4 separate regions of the Homo sapiens genome follow, and regions 1, 3 and 4 are each linked to region 2. Evidence: promoter capture Hi-C in human tissues and cell types (Jung and others, 2019). All regions are on one chromosome and are shown on one strand. Each heading gives the region's core, a stretch centred on a gene start or on the middle of the fragment in contact. The rest is flanking DNA. Distances are from core to core; before and after follow the strand shown.

Region 1 (3,611 bases), core at 403-2,902, 270 kb before region 2:
GGGAGGATCAATGAAGCCCAGGAGGTTGAGGCTGCAGTGAGTGACCCGTGATCAGGCCACTGCACACCAGCCTGGATGACAGAGTGAGACTCTGAAAAACAAAAACAAAAACAAAAAACACTCACCAAATTCGTAGAATCAGACACATTAGTTCTGAAGTTTATATGCAAAAATCAGCAAATTAGACAATGAATGAACAAATACCGTATAAGAAGATTAATGAAGTATCTATGGTTAGAAATTGAGAATACACTGCAAGCTTCTATGAATACATGAAGAGATCTCTGGAAAATAATGGACATTCTGGACAGTTGATCTAAATGCATATGGAAATTCAGTGTATGAAAATGTATCATCTTAAAGCAGTGAGGAAAATATAGATCATTCAGTAAAAATTGTAGCAGTCTGCAACAAAAACATAAAATTACTGTTGGATTGTTATCTTGAGCCACACACCAGCATAGATTACAAACAAATCAAAGCTTATAATGTAAAAAAAAAAAAAAAAAAAAGCACTGAAAGAAAACATGGACAAATTCCTTTATGAACTTGAAGTAGAGAGGCGGCTTTTAAATATGACTGAAAATCCATTAATCATTAAAGGAAAGGATAAATCCAACCATATGAAAATAAAAACCTTCTCTACGGGGGAACATGTCAAAAGACCACTGATTGACTGGGAGAAGCTTCTGCAATTCATATAACAGGCCTAATTTTCCGTAAAACATCCCTATAAAAAGAGATTTTGGAAATCATGAAGAAAAAAGATTTTCTACTCAATAGAACTGAAAAAGAATATAAACAAATAATCACTGACAGGGAAGTACAAACAGTTCTTAACCATATGAAAAATGCTGAATTTCATTTTTTTTTCTTTTTTTTTTTTTTTTTGATACGGAGTCTCGCTCTGTCACCCAAGCTGGACTGCAGTGGCATGATCTCGACTCACTGCAACTTCCACCTCCCAGGTTCAAGCGATTCTCCTGCCTCAGCCTCCCAAGTAGCTGGGACTACAGGCAACCACCACCACTCCTGGCTAATTTTTGTATTTTTATTGGAGTTAGGGTTTCACCATTTTGGCCAGGCTGATCTCAAACTCCTGACCTCAGGTGATCCGCCCGCTTCTGCCTCCCACAGTGCTGGGATTACAGGTGTGAGCCACCACGCCCACCCTCAACTTCATTCTTAATAAAATAAATGCAAATTTAAAATACATTGAGATACTGTTAGTTTGGTTTTTCTTTTTCACTTGTCAAATTGGCTGAAATCCACAATTTGATAAAACATTCTGTTGGTGAGAGCGTGAGGAAATGGACATTCTCATAGAATGCAGTGGGGGAGGAAGGGAGCATAAATCTGCACAACTCCTGTAGAAGAAGTCTGTTTAGAAACAACTACAAAAATTACAAAATTTCAAATTCATATACCGCTCTGAGAATACAGAGAAATGCTGTCCTTGGAACTTATCCTTCATATTATGTGAAATAATACGTAAAATTTCATTATGGCATTCTTTTAAAAATAGCAAAAGGTTAGGGAAAAATCCAGTGTCCATCATTAGGGGACTGGTTAAATGAAGTATGGTCCATCCATACAAATGAACATTATGTAATTGAGAAAAAGAATGTGGCCCCTCCCTATGTGTTATTTTGGGTAAATCTCCCAGGGATACGGTTCAGAAACAATTCAACATAAAGAGGAGTGTGTGTAGCAGGTTGACTTTTGTGTTACAAAGGGAAAATAGTAACATATGTTCATACTTGCAGGTTTCTAATCCTGTCTCCACCGCTTACATCTGGGTAAATTTGGGCAAGTTACATGTTGTGTCTGGGCTTCAATGGTATCACCTAGAAACGAAGATAATCACTACCACCTAAAAAAAATTGGGAAGATTAAATGAGAAAAATATTTACAAAGCACTTAGCAAGGTATTTGGTTCACAATTGTTGTAAAAAGGACAGTTACTACTCTAAGGGGCTCTGCCTTCTCTATATAAACTTATAAACTTTAGAAACTAATCTGACAGCCTAGCACCTACTAATATTTATTTGCTATAGTTCACCCAGTGTATTTGTACATTTAAAAATATATATCTCATGAAGTCCCAGAGTGCCTGAGGATTGAAAGGGGACAGCATCACAGCTCTAATGCTAAGAGATACAGACCATTAAGGCTCCATCTGAAATCAAGTATCTTTAAAAAATAAAAAAAAGAAGGAAGTAAAATTCAATTTGTATGAAATTTGATTTGCACAAGTTCTCAGAGAAACAGGAACTGGATAAAGTGAATTTCACCTGTATCGAATCATCAGTCACCTTCAGTACCTAGGAAGACACCAAAACAACATCTGGCAATCAATTTTCCATCTTTCAGTGCAGCCTGAGGAACTGGGTAGCAACCAGCATGGTATTGTAAAGAGAAAACTGTGTGGGCCAATTCAATTTCCTCCTATGACAGAATGACAGGTCACAGAGATAGGAGAAAAGCAATAGATGTAATCTACATGAGCCACAGCAAGTCTTTTGATTCAGTCCCACATGACGGTCTCATCAGGGCTTTCTGAGGATTGGGTCTAAATCAGGGTTTGAGGAACTGGGGCCCCTCCTACCCCCACCAGCGTCACCCAACCCTAGCAGAGTGCTGGATAGAAGCAGTGCGATAATCTACTAGAGACTGGAGCATGTCAGGGACGACAGAGAAGATAGAAGGGATAGAGGGAGGTGAAATTAATGCAGACCCAGAGACAGAGTAAGAAAGAGAGAGTCAGAGACAGAGAGAATGTGTGGAAAGTTTCTAGGATTAGGAGACTGTAAGTATAGGTTAAGACACTCAGACAGGTGCAGTTGCTCACACCTGTTATCCCAGCAATTTGGGAGGCCAAGGTGGGAAGATTGCTTGAGGCCAGGAGTTCCAGACCATCCCTGCAACATAGCAATACCCCATCTCTACAGAAGAAGTAAATAAGTAAATAAAAATTAGCCTGGTGTGGTGGGATGTGCCTGTAGTCCCAGCTACTTGGGAAGCTGAGGTGGGAAGATTGCTTGAGCCCAGAAATTCTAGGTTGCAGTGAGCTATGATAGCACCACTGTACTTTAGCCTGGGCAACAGAGTGAGACCCTGTCTTAGTGAAAAAAATAGGAACAAAAGTAAATAAAAATAGAAACACTCAAGGAGATAAACATGAGCTGGGAGACTATGTTGACAGCAGGGAGCTTCTCATGGGAAGGGAAGATCCTGGTGGGTGGGGAAGCCAAGCACCTCCATGTCACTGAGGATGTAAAGAAAAATGGACAAAAGAGAATACCATTCACAGTCACTCACTCATTCATTGTGTGTGTGTGTTTGTGTGTGTGTGTGTGTGTGTGTGTGAGAGAGAGAGAGAGAGAGAGAGAGAGAGAAGAGGAAGGAGGTGAAATCTCAATTAGGAGTTTTGTGAGAAACTATTGGGTTATGAAGGTGGGAAGAGCGGAGCTCACACTGGGAACTCTGCTTCAGGATCATATAGATATTGGAAAGTTTCGTTGTAGATATTGGTGAAACTTGTCCATTGAATTACTGTAGAACTGGAAAAGGAGGAATGAATGTTACTGTTGAGTCAAAGATACGAATAT
Region 2 (3,453 bases), core at 241-2,740:
GCTGCGGCAGTCCTGGAAGATGCGCACGGGCACAAACTGGATGGCGTTGGCCCGCATATGCAGCGTGGTGAGCTTCCGCAGCCCGTGGAAGAGGTCGGGCGCGAGCGCCTGCAGCTTGTTGTACGAGAGGTCCACGCTGCGCAGGTTGGGCATGGGCCGGAAGGTGGTGTTGGGCAGTTGGGTGATCTGGTTGGAACTCAGCGTGAGTTCCTTAACTCGGCGCAGTTTCTGAAAGGCGTCCCCCTGCACGGAGCAGATGTGATTGTGATCCAGATAGAGCCACGTGAGCTGCATTAACCCCGTGAACTGGCCGGCGCGCAGCTCCGAGAGGCTGTTGTAGCGCAGGGACAAGCCCAGCAGGCCGGACAGGTTGTGGGGCGCCTCGGTGAGGTTGAGCGCCTCGCAGTACAGCAGCCGCCCCTCGCACCGGCACAGCTGCGGGCACCCGCTGGGGGCGGCGGGCAGCATCTGAAAGCAGGCCCCCAGCAGACACAAGACCACCCCCGAGGGCCTCCTCAGCAGCCAGTATAGACAGAGACCGAGCAGCAGGAAATCCATTAGCGAGAATCTTTCCAGAGAGACTGGAGAATGTCCATTGGAAGCGCTCGGTCAGAAATCTACATCATATTTTATTCCGAGGGAGGGGAAGCGGGGGAGGGGGAGAAAAGGGCAAAAAATCAAATAAATACATAGAAATAAAGAAGGACCCCCCTCCCCAAAAACCACACGTTCACCTCTAAGCATGCAGAAAGCTGGGCAGCATAGAAAGTTCACAGCCACGGAAAGATCAAAGAGATGGTGATTTGGTCCATGTTAGATGCTGCAGCAAAGAAAAGGGAGGAAAAAAAAAATCTTCGGGAAAGAATTTAATTAAAAAGTGTCTTACCCACCCTTTTCCAGAGAGTGACAACCTCCATTCAGCTGCTCCCTTTGTGTGCAGGCTAATTATATGCAGGGCGAGAGAAGACCCCTCTGTGTTTCCGAGGCAGCCCCGGTCCGCGGCCGGCGGATCTGGCAGGCGCACAATGTCTCACTTTGCTGCTCGGCTCGGGGCTGCAAGGGCGGCCGGCAAGGCGGGGAGGCGACTTCTAGGACCCGCAAGTTTCCCAACTACGTGCCGGAGCCCGAGCTTCGCCTTCCTGCCGCCTTCCTTTCCCTCTGCAGTTCGGACTGTGACGTTGTGGGGGGAAAAAACTCCAAACTCGGGGCTCGCGACTCCCCAGGATCTGACAGTCTGGTTAATGTCCGTCATTGGAAACGACCACTGACCGGCGCCACCTTTTACTCCGCGGAAACAGCCTGCCATTCGCGCCCCGGGCAGCTGCAGAGAGCGGGCTCACTCATGCTTTGCGGGCGGCGGGCGGCGGGCGGCGGGCGGTGGGGAGGTGCGGACGGCGGCGCGGGGAGCGGCGAGCGGCGCCCGGGCTCCTTCCCTCCACCAGGCAGTGTGCGGCGCGAGCTTGCACAGGCACCTACTGCTCACTGAGTGTCGTAAGCTGCTCACGATTGTGCGTCTTCCCCGAGCACCTCAGACATGGGCAGATTGAAAAGGGGTGGGCATAAAACCAACATTTTACCGAACCACTAAAGTAATATATGTTTTTTGATGAAACGGAAAACACTTTCAGCTTTTTTGTCCATATTTCAAAAAAAAAAAAAAAAAAAAAAAGGAGGGGGGAGGGAGGTGGAGGTAGGGGTAGCATCATCCACGACAAGATATTTCCAAGTGGGAAACTGAAATGTTCTGTGCTCTCCCCCTTGCCTTTTGGGGATATATTCTTTTCCCCTTTAAAACTGTCTACGTGTAAGAGATACGTAGGAATCTGTAGAGAAATCAACGTTTGGACCTTTGCTTTAGAAAAGCAACTTGAGAGAAGACACAGGAAGGCAATGATTTGGGGCTTGGCTAAGATTTTTGGGGTTTTTTCCCCCTCTTGCGGGTACTGGAATTCTGCAGTCAGCCAGCCCTTTTTTGAGGTGGAGAGGGGAAATGCTTTCCAAACCCACCTAGTTTGGGAAGCCATCCAAGTCCCGGTGGTGTGAGATCCAGTGTGGCAAAAAGGTATGTCTGTGTGCAGGGAGACTTGACTGAGATCCCTCCGGGGCTTCATCAGGCTCCACAGATACATATGGGGTACAGAGTGGATTAAAGAACGATTGTACTGTCTGACATGGGGAGGGCTTACCCTGACTTGTGCTGTTCATGGTGATTACTGGGCCCTGCAGTGCACCCCACTCCAAGAGAGTGTGAATGTGTAGGGACGTGATAGTTTAAGCCATAATGAAGCCTACCCGTCTCCATACACACATCCTAATTAATCTTTGAGACTGCACTAAGTTGTGCCACTTTTTCCTCTGAGTATGACGAGAAGCCTTTGCCTCATTATTTCTATTCATAATCATTTATAGATAGGAGTCCTTACAATGAGCTCTCCCCCCACCTCCCCACACACACACCTTGTGCCTACTGGTCTGTAGAGGGTCTGCCCTGGGGAGGGTCAGTTGGTCATCTGTTTAAACAAAGTCCTCCAAGATGGCTGAGAAAGCCTGCGGGAAGTGAGTGTGGGCAAGCCTTCCTTCTTGACAAAGATGCCCAGGGAGATGGTAGGGAGAGTCAAATGTGAGTCTCCAGCTCCACTGTTTGAATTCCCATCGTTTCTGCCTCTAAGGAAGTCAAAATCAGTAGGCATTATATGTAGTGGCACTTACTTTGATAGGAATGAGGGTGGATTACCAGAGCCAGGGTAGATAGACTGGACAAGTAACTGGATTGGTCCTTAGCATCTAAGCTGAAGAGGCCAACCAATGGAATCAAAGTCACCAAAGACTGGTGGTACTTTTCAGGAAAAGTCATATGAACAGGGGCATGAATCATTCCATTTTGTATTCATCTGAGCTCTGCCCTGGTCATTCATCTCTGAGATGTATCATTTAATTGGAAGGAACACAAATCTGAAATGTCCTAGACATCACATGCTGTCTTAGGAGTTAGAAGAGACATTAGAAAATCAACCCCCTTAATTTTGCACGTGACTAAACTGAGGCCAAGAGACATCATGGTTTATCCAAGGTCATACAGCTTGCAACTGGCACAGATGGTTTTTTCTTTCTTTCTTTCTTTTCTTTTCTTTTCTTTTCTTTTCTTTCTTTCTTTCTTTCTTTCTTTCTTTCTTTCTTTCTTTCTTTCTTTCTCTCTCTCTCTTTCTTTCTTTCTTAATTTGCCATTCTTGATGATTGCCTCTCTGTCACTCTTGCTGCCTACCTAACTCTGGATCAGGCATTTGCATGTTTCATCCTGGCACCTCCAAGGTGCTGCGGAACACTTTAACAGACAGACAAACAAATTCACCATCAAGTGGTTTCACCTCTTGCCAAGACAATTATTCGTGACAGCAGGCCAGCTGATGGAGCCATAAACTCTAAAGGGTTGGGAGGTGGGGGAGGGGTGTTGAG
Region 3 (3,792 bases), core at 1,269-3,768, 370 kb before region 2:
AGATAAAAGGGAAAGAGGAGCAGGGGAGAAAGCTAACTGTGTGATGGAGAAGAGGGAACCAGTGAACTTGGGATTTGAGAGTATGTGAAATCATAGTTTAAAACCTTTAAGGTTTTGTCTTTTAACTCCGGCCACCTCTCAGCCACCTATGCTGAGATACTTGTGTGTGAGATTCTTTTTTTTTTTTTCTTTTTTTGGTGTTTTCTTAATGCTAGATCAATGAAAATACTGTTTCAGCTTGAATTTATGATGTAAGTGAGCCAGTTATTGAAGTAAGCTTGCTGTGTGTACACCATGAACTACTCAATTTACAATATGAAAATAATTCCCAATATTAAGTGTAAATAAAGTATGATTTACATTTTATGTAACTGCTAGTTTATGAGTACTCAAGACTTTGTACATTTTAACAAGGCCTATTTTTAATTGAATATTGAAAAACTAGATCCTCAAACTTTTCATCACATACATTGAGTTACAAACTTGACAAACCACCCCATCTTCTTCCTTGCATTTTTACCACCACACTTTGTATTTCATGCCGTGGTCATGACAGGCACCTGTTGATACCCAGAAAAAGAACTTTGAATGTGTCTACTGTAATAGTGTGCATTGATCCTGTTGATCCCTGTGATCTTTGAAGTGTGTGTTTCACCAGTCATTAATTTATTTTGTCTGTACGTACGTCATTTTAGGTCAGCTCTCTGTTGTCAATATTTCTAGCATATATATTTGATTAGCTCTAAGTGGAGATTTTTGTTTGTGGATATCTTGGACAATTATAGTTATCATTTCATGCTTTATAGGGTTTTTGTTTTCTGTGTTAACATCACCACTACCACCATAATCACAATGGTATTTATTGAGCAACCTCTGTGTAAATTGGGTAGACATTTTCTCTTAGGTCATAGATTCATGGGTTTAATATAAAAAAGGGGCGGGCAGAGGAAGCTTATATTTATTGGATATTTATTGTGTACCCACCATGTTACGGGCTATCATATTGAACCTTTCTAACAACACTGTTCGGCTAGGATTTGTATCTTCATTTTTTAAATGAGAAAATTGAATCTCACAGAGTTAAGCTACTAGACCTAGTGAAACAAAGAGGCTGAAATTCAAATCTAGATCTTTGGGCTTCTGGTATTCTCTTTTTTTTTTTTTTGAGATGGAGTCTTCCTCTGTCGCCCAGGCTGGAGTACAATGGCAAGATCTCGGCTCACTGCAACCTCTGCGTCCCGGGTTCATGCCATTCTCCTGCCTCAGCCTCCCTAGTAGCCAGGATTACAGGCACCTGCCACCACACCTGACTAATTTTTGTATTTTTAGTAGAGACGGGGTTTCACCATGTTGGCCAGGCTGGTCTCGAACTCCTGACCTCAGGTGATCCACCTGCCTCGGCCTCCCAAAGTGCTGGGATTACAGGCATGAGCCATCGCACCCAGCCCTGGAATTACTATTCTTTACATGGTCTAACCACCTGTATGCTTTTAAGCACACTTAAAATGTTTCTGTGCTTCATTTACCTGCATTAATGCTTTGTGTGGTTTTAGTTTTTTAACATTTTTTGAATAGTTGTGACAGCTTGATCACATCTCCAGATAACATTGCATATGGAGCATTTAAAGATCAGTAATAAATATAAAATTTAAGGAAGTTCCATGAGGTAATAGAAACCATTCCAAAATGAAAACAGAAGAGGTCTATGTTTTAGGTTCAGGTCGGCACTAAGCTGTAACTATAAACTTTGAATATTTTATTTATGTATAAAATGAGAAAGCAGAGATACATAATTTCTAAGGTTGAGCTTTAAAATTATATGCCTATATGGTCTGAAAAACATTCTTGAACTATTTTAATTTTGCCTATCATCCAAATACATTTTAAAAAGAAATTCTATTTTCTCTGACTTTGTGTTTGAATTAAGAAGATGAAAATCAATTTGGCCTGATTACAGAACTTAACTATATTAGGCTGGTGCAAAAGTAACTGTAAAAACAGCAATTACTTTTGCACCAATCTAATAATATCAGCAACAGCCAAACACTAATAGCAATAATAATTTGCCTACTTTTAAAATCATGTGTTATCTTTAACTGTGCAACTCTACAAAATTGTTGAGTGGTTGTTCCCATTTCACAGATAAATAAATTGAGGCTCAAATAAGTCAATATGATTGGGGTCAGAAGAGCTACTACAGGTGGGACTTGAGTTTACACTCAGCTTTCCTTGTATTCTAAGCCCATTGTCCTTACATCATTCCAAAGGCAAGTCCCAGCCCAGAAGTCTTTGAGCATCCCAAGTAGGGAGGGTATGTGGCTTAAGGGACTGGTTGCCTCTTCTGTGATGAAAGCTGTGTCCTTGCTCTGCAGCTCAGGATTAGACACTACCAGATGTGATATACAGAGGGGAACAAGGTGAGCTCTTCCTCATTTCCCCCCAAAAAAGACATGGGACCCTTTGGTGTAATGAAAGAACCTAGCCCAATGGCTTAAATCCTATTTTATGTTACAAATGTAGGTAGCATTACTGAAAAGAGATAGATTTAGAATAAATGCACCAAGGTTTTACTTTCAAAGATAAGTAGAAGTTTGAATGAGTTTGCTAAGAGGAATTTTAGAATGGATGTATAAATAGGGCTCAATAGTTATTTGGATGAGATTGCAGTTGCATAGATCCTTAACAAGTTATACAGTTAAAGTTGGTATATTTTTTTGATGTTTGCCAGAGAGGGGGAGCAGAGTTAGCATTATCTCCTTGACGGACACCCATCTTCCTCCCTAATGAATAATAACAACAATGAAAATAATGACTACATTACTGACAGGCTATTCTCTGCCAGCCGTGGTGTTAGGTGCTTTGCACTTATTACTTCTTTTGATTCTGCTGACAGCCATACTAGGGAAGAACACTATTGTCTTTGTTTTATAGATGAGGGGGCAGAGCCTCCAAAAAATTAAATGCCTTGTCCAAAGTCACATGGAGGCAAAACCACAATTTAGACTGGTCTGCCCAGAGCCCGTATTTCTTCTTTCTCTCTCTCTCTTTTTTTTTTTTTAACTTTTTATTTGGAAATAATTTTAAATTTACAAAAAGTTGCAGAAAAGTACAAAGAACGATATATGCTTTACTCAGATTTGCCTGTTAACATTTTGCCCTATTTTTGACCCCACACTCTCCTGTTACACTGCAGCCTCACAAAGAGAGGCTATCATTTATTTTTAGTGCCCTGGATTTAGTTGATCTCATGATCAGCCCAGTCTGGCTCACCTTGTTCAATGCTCTAGTGAAATTCTACATTTCAAATATCTTTGAAATAGAAGAATTGGTGTCACATTGTAGTTATACGAAGACTATACATGAGATGAATGCATAAATCTAACTGGGGTGGAGAAATGACTACCTTTTACAAATTGTCCCTCTAAAACGTTTTGGGGTTTGCTGATTATTTTCGAAAGAATGTTGACAGAGGCCTGGCAGTAATAAATAATACACCTTGTGTTATTTTTCCTTGCAGAGATTTCCTTTTTGAGTGGCATTTTTTTCCCTTTTTAGGTTTATTTACCCAGTTGTTGAAATCAAAATTAAATGCAAGTCACAGTTCTTTGGACTGTCAAAGGACATGACCAGAAGAGGGCAGACTTGCATGCTGCAACCGTTTCCCGTGTAATTGAGCAATCTGCATGCTGATGTTATAGAATGGCAATGAAGAGAGATTTAATAATAACTAAAATGAAAGGCTTATGCTTATTTGGTACAGGATTTCTAATAAGACATCAGAGTCAAAGAGGC
Region 4 (3,668 bases), core at 40-2,539, 270 kb after region 2:
CAGGGGAATAGTGTGATCTGACTTAGACCTTAAAAGGACCACCATGGCCATGCTGGTGAGAACAGAATGTATGGGGCAAGAGCAGAAGCAAGATCAGTTAGGAACCTCCAGAATAATCCAGGCCAGGCCAGACTTGCTGGTCGCCAATCACTCCTGACTAGGGAGTTTTTTCATTTTGTTGTTGTTGTTGTTTTGTTTTTACCTTTGGATCTCTAATTTGATTTTCTAGTCTGCAGCCCATTCCAGTGGTGTTGAGCTCTGTTGGGAAATCCTACCTCATGCATCTCTCAAGCTCTCCTGCCAACCTATATTCTCAGCCTTCTCCCAGTGAAATTCTCATACACATTTGGGCCGTTTCTTTCAATGGTTCTTATTACATTTTATGAAAAATGAGAAAATACTGAAGGATTCAGAGTCATTTCACCGGGACTCATTTGTAAAATTTACTCAACAACTCACATGTCCAGGTGAAATGACTGAATCCTTCAATACTTTCTCACTTTGTTTCTCTATAGAGGCTGTTGCAGAGGAATAGAGCACCAGCAGCAGGTGAACGGGTCCTGTTTTGCAACTGACATGTGGTATGACCCTGGTCAAGCCACATGATCTCCCTGGGCCCCTGTAATGGGCACAAGTTAATCTCATAGACTTTTAGGAGAGAATCTGGAGTCTGAATACTTGGTGCCATTTTACAGATATGACCCACTTCCATAACAAAACATAAAATAGTGGAACCACGAAACTAGGAGTAGACTTTAAATAGTTTCTGTTTATTGAAAAAAGCCTTCCCAAAGAGCACATAGAACTTTCACCCTCAGTCTCTATCCTCCAGTACAGCGAACTGTTTATTTTATTTATTCCTTTACCCTGTAACACTATCTAATGATAGAAGCGTAATCTTCCTGGGCCCATTTGCAGACCCTCTGTAATTTTCCATGTTTCCTTTAATTCATGGAGGTCTTTGACCAACTAAAAAATAGCACTCATAGTTTTAAAAATGTGTAATTCAAAAAAGAATGCCACGAGTAGGAGACACACTCACATGCAATTAGCAAACTGCACATGCACAGAACTTTTTATATGGATGGGCTGGATGGGTTTGTTGCGTGTTTAAGGTACATGTAAATAGCTTAAGCTCATCTATTTGCCTGGTGGTATTTGTGATGGTTAAAATCATGGGCTCTGAAACCGTCAACTTGTTGCCCGCCTCCATCACTTGCTAGGTGTGATGCTTTGGAAAATATACTCAACAGTTCTGAGCCTGTTCACACACCTATAAAATGGTGATTACATTTATTTCATTAGGTTTTTGTAAGGATCAAATTCTTTAGCTGAATGCCTGTCCCATAGTGGGTGGTAAACAATGATTGCCATTATTATTGCTGTTGTTGTTATTAGGTGTTATATTTTATTATTAAGCACAGTAATTATCACCATCATTTATGAATTTAGTTAATTTTTATGGTTCCTAAAGCATTTTCCTATACATCTAAGCTTAGGAGTCCTGTGGGGCAGAAAGTGCATATAGCAATTATAATCTCCGTTTTATGAGCAGGGAGACACAGAAGTAGTGAAACTAAGTGACTTGCCAAAGACATATAGCTTGTGAATGGCAGAGTTAGGTCAAAACATGCAGGTCCCCTGAGTCCTCGTCCAGGTTAATACCTCTTTTGATTTTAATGTTTTTCTTTATTTTGGTTCTTGGGCCATTGTCTCTTGAATAAAAACTCATCATTATTAGCCTTATGCTGCCAGGTTGGGTTTGTCATTGACTCATCTACTGAATGCACAGATCACTGAAATGTTTGGGCACAGTACTATAAGAACTGTCATATTCTGCTTATTTTTGTTGAATGAGATTTTTCGATTTACTTTTTCTCTTTCAAGAACTTATGACAAAAAGCGCTTGTAATCTTGTCATCTCATCTGTCAGCTGAATTTACCAACTTGCTATAATTGTCCCACAGTACACTGCAAAAGAGGGAGAAATGATCAGAGAATATTGTCTCTGTCCACAATAAAAATACAACCAGTTACTTGAACTGGGCTCTGCCTACTGTAGCCCTGCTTTAGTTAATAAAATATGAGAACAAAACCTCTTTCTTCTCTCCTTATTTTAATATTCCTATGAAAGTAAACATCTGTAGATGACTGAGTGAATGTTAATAAGGTTGATGGTGAGAGAGAAGGAAAAACAAGAGTGATATGCCAAAGCTTGGAAAATTACTAGGCATAACGTGCTATTGGCACGAAGGACCCCATTTTATGCCTGTCTGACCAATCTCAAGCCTTCATCAATAACCACACCTGATTAATTACACTGTGGTAGCCAAAGAAACCAGCAGAATAAAAATGTGCCCTTTTGGATGGGGAATGGGCAACTACATCATCGGTATTCCTTGTGGTCTGCTCTTTTCTTTTGAAAGACAAAGCCCTGGAATGTGGTCCTACTGTATGCCAAGAGGCAGTCTGTGGAAGACCATCACCTGTCAGGCTAATCTCACACTGATTCACTCACTCACTTTTGTGCACCATCCTTACTACCGTTCGAATTTAACCTCATAGAGTTAGCAAAGCCTTAGAGCAAGCTATAACGTCTCATGCCTCAGTTTTCCTACCTGGAAAATGGAGAAAATAATGTCTACATCATACGAGTGTTAAGAAACCTGCGTGAGTTAGTGCCTGTAAAGCACTTAGAAAAAACGTTGACAGACACATACATGGTAAGCACTTAATGCACAGTTATCTATTATTATTGCCATTGAAGATGGAAAGGTGTTTTGTTCCTGGGCTTATGGATTCTTTCTTATCTTTTCCTTATCACTGACTTTATAGATTGGAAAGGATCTTGATCTAACTCTACTCTTTTTAAGCAATTTTATAACTTCAGTTCTTGCTAAATTTGTAACGTGAATAAACTACAACAAAAACTAATAATGAGAAGTATGTTTGGAGTCAGACACACCTGGGTGTTTAGATCTAACTTCTGGTTCTTTATTAACTAATTTAGGGATATGGGGCAAATGGCTTAACTTCTTTGCACCTTGTATTACTTACCTCTAAATAGAGAATGATCCCTAATGTCACTGTGCTCATCTGAGCTAAATTGATAATACATATGTAAAAGTTATTTAATCCTTTATGGGTATGTGGTAATCAGTAGCTTCATTTCATAAACTTTGTTGAATGAATTGATTTAAAAATCCTAATAATAATGATGGGCCAGGCACAGTGACTCATGCTTGTAATCCTAGCAATTTGGGAGGCCAATGCGGGCAGATCACTTCAGGCCAGGAGTTCCAGACCAGCCTGGCCAACGTGGTGAAACCTTGTCTCTACTAAAAAATACAAAAATTAGCCAAGCATGATGGTGTACACCTGTAATCCCAGCTACTTGGGTGGCTGAGGTACAAGAATAACTTGAACCTGGGAGGTGGAAGTTATAGTGAGCCAAGATCCCACTGCTGCACTCCAGCCTGGGCTACACAGTGAGACCCTGTCTCAAAACAACAAACCCTAAGTAATAATGATGACAAACATTTAAAAAATACCTACTCTGTGTCTGATACTATACAGATAATACATTGCCTAATCTTCACAGCAATCATAGAGGTAGCTACTATTATCAACCTCAATTTACAGAGGAAGTCAAACTAAGAGAGGTAAGA

What was found. The method cuts DNA at HindIII sites, captures the fragments that hold promoters and counts their contacts. A contact is called where the count stands out against the background at its distance.
Region 1: a contact is called between a fragment that was not itself captured here and the fragment with the promoter of LRRTM1 in region 2, in 2 of the 25 tissues and cell types used here (heart right ventricle and hippocampus).
Region 3: a contact is called between a fragment that was not itself captured here and the fragment with the promoter of LRRTM1 in region 2, in 3 of the 25 tissues and cell types used here (H1 embryonic stem cells, hippocampus and thymus).
Region 4: a fragment that was not itself captured here is called in contact with the fragment with the promoter of LRRTM1 in region 2 in 2 of the 25 tissues and cell types used here (dorsolateral prefrontal cortex and liver).

Annotation. Positions count from the first base shown.
Region 1 is chr2:80,033,481-80,037,091 of GRCh38, forward strand. All of the region lies in intron 7 of CTNNA2 (catenin alpha 2), which reads left to right. Among named protein-coding and RNA genes, the nearest start is that of MIR8080, 170 kb to the left of the region's middle. The HindIII fragment of the contact is 3,939 bases long and covers 1-3,611 here.
Region 2 is chr2:80,303,262-80,306,714 of GRCh38, forward strand. LRRTM1 (leucine rich repeat transmembrane neuronal 1) reads right to left here and starts at 1,491. Exons shown (of 2, transcript NM_178839.5): 1 at 891-1,491; 2 at 1-617. The coding sequence starts at 558. The region is part of intron 7 of CTNNA2 (catenin alpha 2); the gene reads left to right. RefSeq lists an enhancer at 308-933. The HindIII fragment of the contact is 15,461 bases long and covers 1-3,453 here.
Region 3 is chr2:79,932,308-79,936,099 of GRCh38, forward strand. The region is part of intron 7 of CTNNA2 (catenin alpha 2); the gene reads left to right. Among named protein-coding and RNA genes, the nearest start is that of MIR8080, 68 kb to the left of the region's middle. The HindIII fragment of the contact is 3,809 bases long and covers 615-3,792 here.
Region 4 is chr2:80,577,513-80,581,180 of GRCh38, forward strand. All of the region lies in intron 13 of CTNNA2 (catenin alpha 2), which reads left to right. Among named protein-coding and RNA genes, the nearest start is that of LRRTM1, 270 kb to the left of the region's middle. The HindIII fragment of the contact is 4,187 bases long and covers 1-3,383 here.